Linked DNA regions of Homo sapiens: region 1 is linked to region 2. The links are contacts of gene promoters, found by promoter capture Hi-C in human tissues and cell types (Jung and others, 2019). All regions are on one chromosome and are shown on one strand. Each heading gives the region's core, a stretch centred on a gene start or on the middle of the fragment in contact. The rest is flanking DNA. Distances are from core to core; before and after follow the strand shown.

The links. The method cuts DNA at HindIII sites, captures the fragments that hold promoters and counts their contacts. A contact is called where the count stands out against the background at its distance.
Region 1: a fragment that was not itself captured here is called in contact with the fragment with the promoter of ZNF281 in region 2 in 1 of the 25 tissues and cell types used here (mesenchymal stem cells).

What each region holds. Positions count from the first base shown.
Region 1 is chr1:200,037,617-200,040,316 of GRCh38, forward strand. NR5A2 (nuclear receptor subfamily 5 group A member 2) reads left to right here. Exons shown (of 8, transcript NM_205860.3): 2 at 2,042-2,179. Among named protein-coding and RNA genes, the nearest start is that of NR5A2, 11 kb to the left of the region's middle. The HindIII fragment of the contact is 6,014 bases long and covers 1-2,700 here.
Region 2 is chr1:200,408,748-200,411,447 of GRCh38, forward strand. ZNF281 (zinc finger protein 281) reads right to left here and starts at 1,289. Exons shown (of 2, transcript NM_001281293.2): 1 at 1,199-1,289; 2 at 1-976. The coding sequence starts at 958. RefSeq lists enhancers at 538-1,115, 1,116-1,693, 1,694-2,271, 1,818-1,867, 2,543-2,700 and a silencer at 1,298-1,477. The HindIII fragment of the contact is 25,771 bases long and covers 1-2,700 here.

The DNA.
Region 1 (2,700 bases), core at 163-2,662, 370 kb before region 2:
TGAAATGTAGTGACAGTGATACTTGATACTATCACAAAAATTGGAGCTTTTGGCAACTTCAGCCCACTTCTCCATACAAACTAATGGACAGGCCTTCATAAGTTTAAATGTTTCCACGAAACCTGAAGTTGCTACTAAAGCTGAAGTCTAAATAACTTTGATCCTGAATATATATTGAAGAGCAAAATGACAAATCAATTAAGAGTCAGTAGTACCTGAATTGCCAGGTGTGGGTGGGTGATGAACAACCCATTTTATGTACATTATGCACTGCAAAGATTGGAATAATTTCCAAGTCACCAAATACCGGATTGGGCAGTTTCAATGTGTAATCTCTATACCATTCAAATAGAATAAACTTAGATCTTTTGAGATTCAAATTCACCCCCTTGTGGGTGGACTCTGATAATTACTTCGTTGCACAGCAGATTCTAAATATGAGGCATTTCGCATGCAGTCAGGAGGCTGGAAAGAATGTTTTTCATCTTGTTGGGAGGAGATCTGAAAACTTTGAAGATGCGGCTGGGCTGGTGGTCGAAGAGCTTGCGTAACAGATGGTTCTTTAAAACATTTTTTAAATGCTGGGCCTCGGCCTCAAGTGGATGGTCCCATCAGACAACAGAATGAAAAAGTACAGCCTGGACTGATCCTTGTATTCCGTGTGGAAACACAGGTCACTAAAACTGGAAAGTCTGTCGCTTAGATGATCTTGGGCTCCAGTCGAGGGTCTTTTAAAAGTGAACGAAGGGACTAGGGAGCAGACTGGGGAAAGAGGAGTCGCTGCCCCTTCCTCTAATTCTATGAGTGAGCTCTTGGCTTGTGGCCCGCCTCTCATTGAGCTGACCCTCGGCCCCTTCAGGGCGCCGGGGCCCACGTGTCGCCTCTTCAGGGTCTCAGTGCCCTGGGGAGTTGAAGCTGGAGGACCCTTGACCGCAGACCAACTCTGCATGTAAGAACGGTCAGCTAAATTTTCTCCTTTCAATGGTTTAAGTGGGTGTTTAACTCCCTTCATCTCCTCATCCGACACACTAGCAAGGGCACACGCCCACCCGCGCCCCCATCCCTTCTTCTTGCTTCCCCTCAGATCGAGGAAATTGCCGCTCTGGCTGCTTCTCCTTCGCCGCCACGCTCAGACAGAGGTCGCTTCTGACTAGCTGTAAGACCCGGCTGCATTTACATCCCCCCGCCCCGGGCCAGGGTGGGGTGGGAGGGGGTGAGGCGGGGTGAAGAGGTTGGGGCAGGCCGGGGGACTGGAGCCTGAGCCTCATCCTTATTGGCTGGCGGCTAGTGTCCGACCTGAGTCCGGAACCCGCGTCCGCATTCACTGTCTTCACCCCTCAATCCAGCCTTCCCCCAACCCCTGGCCCTACTTACCTCCTTCTCCCCCTCGTCTTCCCCCCTGTCCTTCCCAGCACCGTCACCCTCGGGGCTGGGAAGGGCCGTTCTCGGTCCCGCGCGGGGAGTGGACCAGGCAGGAGAGGGAGGTTGGAACTTCACAACTCCACACTTGCGATAGTGAGCAAGAGAGAGGCAGAGAGAGATAGGGGGAAGGGGCGGAGAGGAGGGGAGAGAGAAGGGAGGCGAGAGAAAGAGGAGAGAGACCCCTGCCGATCCTGAGCCAGAGGGCGGTGGAGGGAGGGGAAGGAGTCGCCCGAGCCGTCCGGGAGCAGTGGCAGCGGCACAGCCGGGGCGGCAATAGCAGCCCCGCGGTCGCCTCCGCTGCCCGCCGGGAGCTCGGCGGTTCACGGCTCCGCGCCCCGGGCAGCTGCGTCCTCGCCACCGCCGCCGCCTGCGCCCTTGCGGAGCCGAACCAGAGGGCCGGGACGCTGTCTTCCTCGCCTCCTTTTTTAACCCTGACCTCCTCCTCGCAGCTTGGGGGCGGCTCCGGAGCTGCGAGACCGGACAGGGCTCAGAGGTCCTGCCCGGCAGCCCCGAGGAGGCGGAGGCACGCTCCGGCGAGGCGAGAGGGTTGGGTTAGCAGGCATCCCGGTCGCCCCTTCCTTCTTTTCGCCGGAGTTGAATCTGTGCTGCCCGTGTCCAGGTGCTGGGCTTCCGGACCGACACGGATCCCCCATCCCCGCCCGCGGTCGCCTTGTCATGCTGCCCAAAGTGGAGACGGAAGCCCTGGGACTGGCTCGATCGCATGGGGAACAGGGCCAGATGCCGGAAAACATGCAAGGTAAGGAGGCGCCGCGCGGCGCTCCGGCTCCCGCTGCTTCCCCACCCCCGGGCTCGCCCTGCAGGCTTCAGCCTCCCGCCCCGCGCGGGCGCGGGAGTAGCCCCGCTGGGCGCTCGCAGCCGCGGGAGTCAAGCCCCCTCCCCAGGTGCAGGCATAAAAGTTTATGGCTCTTGAACAATGCGGGGCAGAGGTTTTTCCAAGCAACGTCTAATTGGCCGCTTCTAATTAAGGAAAGAGAGGCTTCCAGCTCTATGGCAACCCAAGCAGGGCAGCTTCAGGCTAAAGGTACTTTAGAATAATAAGATCATTCTAAGAAATGGAATGTCTCACTGGACACCCGAACAGGTTCTCTGTCATTGGAATTGGTGTGTACTGTACTTCAACCAGTACTCTTGTGTGGAGGGAGGCGACCCAGTCTAGGAAAGTCAACTACAGAAAGAGGTGACCTCCGAAAGGATTGTCTTAGCGCTATTAGAATACATGTGACCACACCAAAAGCCCAGGCGGACACCCGCAGCCAG
Region 2 (2,700 bases), core at 39-2,538:
CACATCCAAATGGCTTCTCTCTACTATGAATTTTCTCATGTCTCTGTAGTAGGTATTTCTGAATGAAACCCATACTACACTGGCTGCACTGGAAAGGTCTTTCTCCTGTATGAATGAGGACATGTCTCCGCAGGTGATAGGAGCTTCGGAAAGCAGCACTACAGTGATCACAGATATGAGGTTTCTGACTTGGGGAGAGGATGGCACCTTCTCCATCTCCAACCAAAGAAGGTTTGGAAGATGCACTTGGCTTCCTCTTGGCTTTGATTCCCTGAGATTCTGGCTTTGGCCTTTTTGCCTTTTTGACATTAGTGTCCTGCTTTGGCTCCTCAGTGCCATGGTGGTCATCAGTCCTGCTACTGCTGCTGAGTAATACGTCACGGTGGTGCTGGGCTGGTTGCTGCTGGACATGCTGGTGGAGAATACTGAGGTCCTGGATGACGCCGTGACTCCCCCCTTCACCGCCTCCTAGGCCTGGAGACCTCTCTTCAGCTCCAGCGAACAGCCCCCCATAGTGGTGGTGGTGATGGTGGTGGTGGGACTGCTGCTCCTCAGGATCCGCGGGTTTCTCCTGTTTGATGCTAACCAAAGACTGCAAGAACCCCCAGGAGGTCCTCTGCGAGGGGAAGGCCGCGGCTGACGCCGCCGGCTCCTTCTTGAAAGTCATGTCCGGGGCTGGCGGAGGGGGGGGCTCAGCGGCCGGGGCTGCGGAGGTAGAGGAGGATAACACGCATTGCGGGGGAGGGGCGGCCGACCCCGCCGGCCGGGTGAAGCTGGTGACCGGGGGAAGACGGTGGTTGAACATAACCATACCCTGGGGAAAGGTGGGTTCCATCTCTGCCCTCCTGCCGCTGCTGCCGCCGCCGCCGCCGCCGCCACTACCACCGCCGCCGGAGCCGCTACCACCGCTACTGCCGGTACCTCCGCCGCCACTCAGGAACCCACTGCCGATTTTCATACCCCGGAGGAGGCCTGGCTGAAGAAAGGAGGAGGAAGAGGGAAGAGGGAGGAAAGGAGGTGGAACCGGGCCCCGGGCCGGGACCACCGCAGCGCTAAGGACCCCGCCGCGCCGCCGCCCAGACCGCAACGCGCCCAGCACTAATTCCCAGCCCAGTCGCCTCCGGCACCGGCACGCATGGTCCTGCGACTCTTCCCCAGGCCTCGCCCTCTCCCTCCTGGACCCACCGGCAATACTTACGGGTCCCGCCGCCGCCGCAGCCGCCGTCGCCTCCAGTTAATAAAAATAACGCCGTCCTCTCCACAATGGAATTAAAAGCCTCCCGTGTACTGCGCAGCCGCGGCGCAGTGTCTGCTGGGAACTCCTCGACCCGGCCAGAGGGGAGGGCTAAGGAGCCAGGGCGCCTGCGCCGCAGCTTCCGCCCGGCCTGCCTGTCAATCACTGGGGCCGTTGGGCGGAGGCGGGGGAGCAAGGGCAGGGGAGGCGGGGATTTGGAGCCCTGCTAAAAAGGGGCTTTCGAGGCGAACAGGCGTGATTGGTGGGCTGCACTGAAGGAGATGAAAGTGGTTGAGGGTTTCTGGGGGAAAGACGCTCAGGAGGTGGAACCCAAGGGGCGGGAAGTTACGGGGGACTGTACTACAGCGTGGCGTGGGAGATGCAGAGAAAGGGGCTGGAAGAGAAGGTGAGGGAAACTGAGGATTCAATGTTAGGGCTTTCTTCACTCTAGGTTTTGCAATCCAGGTCTTGAAATAAAATTCAAACCTAGAAGTGGATCATTGAGGGCACTTTTGATTCTATCAAGAAGCATTCAACTCCAAATGCTCAACATTTATTAAAACAGGTGCTTATGTTATCCCTTTGAATTTGGAAGCACTAATAATGGGCGCATATCCTTTGCATTTATGGGAGGAGCCTGCTTTGAAACCGCAATTAGTGGTACCGTTGCAACAAAAAAAAAAAAAAGAAAAAGAAAAAAACTTGTCTTACTGCCAACCTTCCTGAAGGCTACTGGAAGAGGAAACCGAGCGTAATCCAGGTGCAGCAGTCCTGTAAAACACGCCCACACACATACTTCATTATCATTACATCTTATTTAAATGCCCCCGTACCTTAGCCTGGCTAATCAGTCTGTTTGCCACGTTATGAATGCCTGGCCCTTTATATTGTTTATGAAAAATTAACCACCAGGCCATTCTAAGAGCTCTGCTAGGATCAACTCTTTCCTCGCCAGTACAGAATACCGAGAAACTCATTGCAAATTTAGAAATTTTTCTTGTAAGGGAAAATTATGAAGTAAAATCTTAAAATCAAAGTTATATCAACAAAATCAAACAACAAATATTTATTCAGTGTCTAATGTACACAAGGCACTCGATTTCATGTTAAGCATGCAGAAATCTAAACCAGACACTTTCCTAGCAAAGGATATTTATAAATGAGAAATTTTAAATAAAAGAACTAGAACTATGACAACAGCTTATTTACATAGTATGTTTTCTTAATGAAGTTACATGTACATCACAATGTTTCTAGCTAAATAACTTCTCATAATTAAATAATAAATTCTCTGGGAAATTTCACAATCGAAACCATAGGGATTATTTACTAATACTTATGGACCTCTCTCAGCCTGCCCTAAAAATTTTACAGACAATATTTAATGAGAATTTTGAGATAAGAAGAAATTGCTTTTTTTCTAATCCCATGAAACAACATGTAAGTATTCCACCACTTAAACTGAC